Regions from separate parts of the Homo sapiens genome. Here region 1 is linked to region 2. The links are contacts of gene promoters, found by promoter capture Hi-C in human tissues and cell types (Jung and others, 2019). All regions are on one chromosome and are shown on one strand. The core of a region is centred on a gene start or on the middle of the fragment in contact, and the rest is flanking DNA. Distances in the headings are between cores, read along the strand shown.

What was found. Contacts are between HindIII fragments. The study calls those that stand out against the background at their distance.
Region 1: a fragment that was not itself captured here is called in contact with the fragment with the promoter of RGS7 in region 2 in 1 of the 25 tissues and cell types used here (small bowel).

What each region holds. Positions count from the first base shown.
Region 1 is chr1:240,942,341-240,945,661 of GRCh38, forward strand. The region is part of intron 4 of RGS7 (regulator of G protein signaling 7); the gene reads right to left. Among named protein-coding and RNA genes, the nearest start is that of MIR3123, 190 kb to the right of the region's middle. The HindIII fragment of the contact is 5,456 bases long and covers 1-3,321 here.
Region 2 is chr1:241,355,806-241,358,774 of GRCh38, forward strand. RGS7 (regulator of G protein signaling 7) reads right to left here and starts at 1,400. Exons shown (of 19, transcript NM_001364886.1): 1 at 1,094-1,400; 2 at 1-21. LOC124904601 (a long non-coding RNA gene) reads left to right here and starts at 1,447. Exons shown (of 2, transcript XR_007067052.1): 1 at 1,447-1,677; 2 at 2,018-2,969. RefSeq lists a silencer at 1,252-1,301. The HindIII fragment of the contact is 13,432 bases long and covers 1-2,969 here.

The DNA.
Region 1 (3,321 bases), core at 287-2,786, 410 kb before region 2:
TTACAATGTAATTTTAAAACTCAGTAATATTTTTCTTACCCAGAGGCTCAACTTCTTGCAGCCTCCTCTTCTTTTAAATACAGCTCATAATTTTGCAACGATTAATAAAATGCCTCTGAGTCAAGAAAGTAATTTAAAAACTTCACTGAATCCTGTATTTTTATCACTATCATGTTATTTACTCTTATTTATGTGCATGTATTAACATTTTTTTCATTTCCAACACAGTATAAGTATCAGTAGTGTGTGGGGAGAAATATTTTAAAAGAAAATCTAAAAAGAAAAAAGATGGCAGCTGATTATATTAAGGAAACAGAGATGCTAAAATGAAGACAAAGGTAAGTTACTTAATGATAAAATAACAGGTATTCATCAGGACAATTCTGAGCCATAAAAAGAAGATATGTTAGACTTGTTACTTTCTGTTTAAGAAGACATGGAAGTGGTCATTTTAGAAATCCTTCAAAATATTATGCTTTATTTTTTAGAACTGGCATTTGGAAAGGTAAGATTATTCATGTAGAAAAATCTCATATGCGGAACATTTTATTCTCCAACAAAACCAAGTAAAAATGGACTATTACCATATTTAGAAATTTCTGAAGTAAGTTTATTTTCTCAACAGTAGGAGTTAGTAAAAGAAGTACCTCAGCTTTCATCTTTTTAAAAAAAACATCATTTGCATGTAAGAAAAATCAAGTGCCGCTTTCTCAACAGCAATCATAATTCGGGATAGAGAAGTGAATAATAAGGTGACATAGAATAGATAAGCTAAAAGAGATTCTATTTGGGAGAAATAAAAACAGAATCATAATTTATATCAACATTGAGGAATGCAATAAGAAATTAATATAAGTAAACGCTATTTCCAAAAAAGGAGCAGAGTACAAAGGCTATGCCAGTCCCCTGCCTAGGTTCACATCCCGGGTCCCTCATTTGCTGGCTGTGTGACCTGAGCAAGAGACTTGGATTCTCTGGGCCTTGGTGCCCTCATCTGTAATCATCTGTAAGAAGTTGACAAAATAATAATGCCAAAGATTAGCAGTAAGGATCCATTGAGATAATATGCACAATGCACTTAAAACACAGTCTACCACACAGACATGCTCCTGAGATGAGAGTTATTATCAGTTGATACTTATGAAGTGTCACATTCAGGAGCACTTAATCTAGTTTAAGGGGCGATGGGAAACATTAGTAGCTAGTGTTGCTCTGGGTTTCCCAGTCATGTTAAACACTTCCAATTCAACTCTATTTTAAACGCCCCAGGTGATCAAACCAGAGTGTTTTGTGGGCTGAAATATGCCTATGTTTTTCCCTACAGCAAAGAACACTAACAAAATCCCAAAAAGAAATTAGGGACAAACTTATTATATATCACAGGGATAGCCACAGATTTCCAAAGGCGGCATGCTCCACACGCTAGGTTTACAAAACCATACTGTGAATACCAGATGCCAATGAGAGACCTGCCTGCTTTAGAGGAGGACTGATGTGAGGACACCCTGAACCTGACAGTAGAAGAATAACAGGGACAGAGAGAGCACGGGGACAGCAATCAGAATGGGAGATGAATTCTTAGGGAAGCATAATATTTGCCTAGGACTAAAAAAAGAAAATCGACATTAAAATAATAAAGCAATTGGCAGTGAGAGCAACAGATAATCATAAGTCAACGATCTTTTTTACACACACAGAGTAGACCAGTCTAGATGTCTAATGGCAGTTATGACATCTTAGGCATTCTGCATAGATGAAAAATCATGCTGAAATTTGAAAAAATGATCCATGTAATACTGGTGTGAATAACTGGTTTCAGATCTACATTATACAGCCTATATGATATTAGCATGTTCATTCCCCAGATTTAGATAGGTAGTTCCATCAGCCAATCCTTTAACAAGATTCTGTTATATTATATGTGTGTGTGTGTGTGTGTGTGTATATATATATATATATATATATATATATATATATATATATATATATATATGTTAGGTGCATAGAATAGTATTCAGATGAGATAAAAATCATGCTTACTTCATCTAAGTACAGTGTGAGGAAACCATCACAATGGCAAGGGCCAGGGCAGTAATAAATTACAGTGGAAAACAACATTCCATCTAAAATTCAGTATACATTCTGCAAAATTTCCATTAGTTAATCTGGCTGAATGAGCTGGAAGAAAGTAGGGCACTGAATTAACTTTTTAGTAGGCAGAGGAGTTTCTACAGCATGTATTTCTTCAAATCAGAGAGAGCACACACTGCCAAACAAGCACATGTGGAAATCATGGGAAAAAAAGGCTCAACTGCAAGTCATGGGGCTTAAATTCTAATCCTAGTGCCTGTAACTGCATGTCAGGAGTAAGTCACTTCCTTTCTTTTGTTTTGAGATGGAGTCTCACTTTGTCACCAGTCTGGAGTGCAGTGGCGCGATCTTCGCTCACTGCAACCTCCGCCTTCCAGGTTCAAGCGATTCTCCTGCCTCCGCCTCTCAAGTAGCTGGGACTACAGGCATGCGCCACCACGCCCGGCTAATTTTTGTATTTTAGTAGAGACAGGGTTTCACCATGTTGGGCAGGATGGTCTCTATCTCTTGACCTCGTGATCTGCCTGCCTCGGCCTTCCCAAGCATTGGGATTACAGGCGTGTGCCACGCATCCAGCCAAGTCACTTCCTTTCTTAGAGCTGGCATCTGTAAATGCAGCGGGGATCACTAAAGACTTTTTAGTTCTGAGTCCATGACAAGATGTGCAGTCAAAACACTAGCTAGAAGTTGTGGCAGAGCAGCCGCCATCCTTATTTTTGCCTCCTTGTGTCAAAGGGAAATGGATTTTTCTTTATTTCTCAGACATTCTTGCCATTGCCCATGTCCCAATACTCTAACACGAAAGAGAAAAATAGCCCAATACGAAATATAAAAGCTGATTTTAATTTCAGTTGCTTATAACTCAATCCTGATGATTCTCAAGGGCTGCTATAGTATAGAGTTTTTGTACACAGAGCAAATGAATGCTTATTCCAAATAGGAACTGGTTTTATGAGTGTGTTCTATTTACACATTTTCAAAAACTAGTTGTAAAAACGCACACATGTCTTGGGATTAGCCAATAACACATCCCATGTGCCAAAATATCCTGAATGCATTTTGTTTGAAAATCAAATATCACTCCTAAGGAATAAGCAATATAGTCTTCTCATAATACCTGTTAATGGTATCTCTTTTAAAAATCACTATTCCTTAATATTTGAACCATAATGAATGATAAGTCTAATTTCAAAGCCACAGGCTTGGTCACTGAAACAGTCACAGTTTTTA
Region 2 (2,969 bases), core at 150-2,649:
TACAAGAATTATCAGTGTGCCCTGCAAAGGGTCAGAGAGACTTCAGTGAGATCCCAGTGGGACTCCCCTGATTCATCATCATCATTCACAGCACCCACCCCACATGGCGCGTTCTTACAAACTGGGGCTGGCTGGAGAAAGTGACACAGGACATGGATTTTTTAAAAAGTGAGTTGACACCTACAATAACCTCAAGGAATTGTAAGAAATTACAATCTTCCAGGTAGAAATAGCCATTTGGTTATTGTTTTAGCTGACTTCATTTTCTGGATACTCATTTTGAGAAGTGTTTGATGCTCACCCTAAAAACTCGTGGGTAGCATTTTCCTAGTACAGAGTTCTCTTCTCTCCCAATACTTGCATCTGAACTTGGTGATGTTTTCCCCAAAGGGTGGAAAGGCAACACCTGGGGGATGCGGTGGGGGAGTGGGGGGCGGGTTAGCACACTTTCTCCTAGGTATCTGTCTAGTGTCCCCACCTGCAGCCCATCAGAGAGGCCCATTCCCGGTGTCATTCTCCAGCGCACGGGCTTCCTCTCTATTCCCCCGGGTCTCCCACACAGAGCCGGAGTATATGCTTCGCCTACTTTCACCTGCCTGCGCTGCCAGCCACCGGCTGCTCTCCTTTCTCCCCACTTCGCTTCGGAAGTCCGGAGGTAATCCTGCCTAATTTTTGCAAGAAGACACCAGAATATGTCCCGGCAACAAGAACTAGTGGGAGGTCAAGCCTTCAGGCCATTTTACCCGGGTCACCGTGGGTAAAAGCCTAACTGCAGAAGCCTCCAGAGCAACCAGCCAAAGAGGAGAAAACAGGCAAGCCCCTGCTCCCCTTGCTCGCTCTCACGGCAGCAGCAAATGGCAGGCGAGCCTGTGCCCCGCGCCGCGGCGGCCGCCGGAGCCGGGCAGCAGTTTCAGCACCGTGGACCGCGGGGTGCGCGCGGCGCCCGTAGCCCAGCCCCGGCGCGGGGCTCCCGGGGGCGGCCGCCCTGCGCCCGCGGACGCTCCCGCTGCGCAGAGCGAGGGCTGGGTGCGGGCCGGGGGCCGGGAGGGCTCTGGGTGGCGCTGCCTCCTCCCCGCCCGCCTTCCCTATTTACCTCCTCCGCCAAGGTCACGGCCCCGCGGCGTCTCCCCTCCCGGGCGGGCTGGGTGCAGGCGGTGTCAGCTGGCGGCAAGCGGAGCAGCGAGGCAGGGTAGCTTCATCACACTCGCGGCGGATGCGGATTCCGCGCCGCCCCGGCTCTAGCTGCTCAGGCGACCGCCACCCTCGCCTCGCCGCCGCCCGTGCACAGGCGGCTCCGGCAGCCGCCACTCGCGCCCGCTCCCCTGGGCCGCCTCGCTGGCTCTCTCCCTCCTCCGCTTCTTCTCCCGGGGACTGGGACCAGCCGAGCGCGCGCGGGAGTCGAGACGCCCGGCCCGTGCGCGCGACTGGGAGGAGGGAGGAGGGGACAGTCACGTGGGACAGGGGCGTCCGAAGGTGCCGGCTCGGATGGGCTCGGCTCGGCCGCCGCCACACCGCCCGGGCCTCCCGGGCCTCCCCGGCCTCCCGCCCTCGCGCCCCTCGGGAGGCTGTAGTCCTGCCCCCGGCGCGGCCAGCCCGCGCTCCCGCACACCCCGCCCGCTCGCCCGCGCGTGTGTACGTGCGCCGGAGGCCTGGAGAGACCGGAGTTTAACGCCCAGTGTAAGCCGGAAAGGGAGGAAGGCTGTGCGATGGGTGGGTGGGTGGTAGGTGGGTGGGTGGTCTAGTGAATGGATGGACAGATGGACGGACGGATGCACGGATGAATGGATGGATGGAGCCCCGTGCAAACCAAGGTTTCATCACGTGCCTAACGACTCCGCTGAAAGTCCCAGGGAAGCAGATGATTTATTATTATTATTATTATTATTATTATTATTATTATTATTATTATTATTATGCTTAAATAACAGAGTAGAGAGATATTGAGACACCCTAGGAATGAAGGAAATGGCCAGGACCAAATGAATCATTCATCCCCGTTTGCCTGCGGTTTTCACAGCTTCTTCCTAAGTTGGAGAAATGGGAAACGATTTGAAAGCTGCCAACCGGAGGTGAAAATCTTGCCACTTGTGAAACTGAAGGAACATCCCCAAGGCCTGGCTTCTCCTTTTAACAGAAGGTGCTCAGAGGAACTTTCCTCTTGCCCACTGCCCTCATCCTCTAGCAATTTTCAAAGAGCTTCTGAGGTGCTGATCCTCCTAGCTATAGTCTTCGTACTGCTGCCACAAATTCTTCTGTAAGGATTAGAATGACATAAAGGAGACAGATCACTTTTGTCTCGGTGGTAGTAAAGCAACCTGTGCCTCTGGCTTTCAGGGGGAAGGGCTGGGCCGCTGTAAATCTAGTTTTCCTTCCTCTCCTGGGCCAGCTGTGGAGGAGAGGGAGGGAGAGAAGGAGAAGATAATCAAGATCAGCTGTAAATCTAGTTTTCCTTCCTCTACTGGGCCAGGTGTGGAGGAGAGGGAGGGACAGAAGGAGAAGATAATCAAGGTCAGCCTTTCCTGACCCCTTGGTCTAAGCAGACTAGACCTTATTGGAGATAACACTTCTACTCAAACAGGGGTCCATGTGGACCAATGTATTACCCCAGCCCCATGCAGGTCTTGTCAGGTTTCTCTCAAGGAACAAATATTTATCTAACCTAGCCCCTGTTCCAAGTACTACAGGAGAAATATCATTGTCCCAAACTACACACACTCTAGTCTGACCTGTCTCCCACTCCAACTCCCCACATCTTTCCACTGTAGCCTCTGGAACTTAGAATCTTCTTCAGCAAAATTCTCTTCGTTTTCGACTTCTCGAAATATTTCTTTAACGTTTTTGCTCTCGCTGAAATCTACTTATCCCTCCTTTAACCCCTCTCTCTTCCCTCTTGTTCAGTCTGCTCCTGAGAAGTTGATGTGACTTGCATGACTTGGATTAATAAATTTGCAAATACAACTGGGTATGCT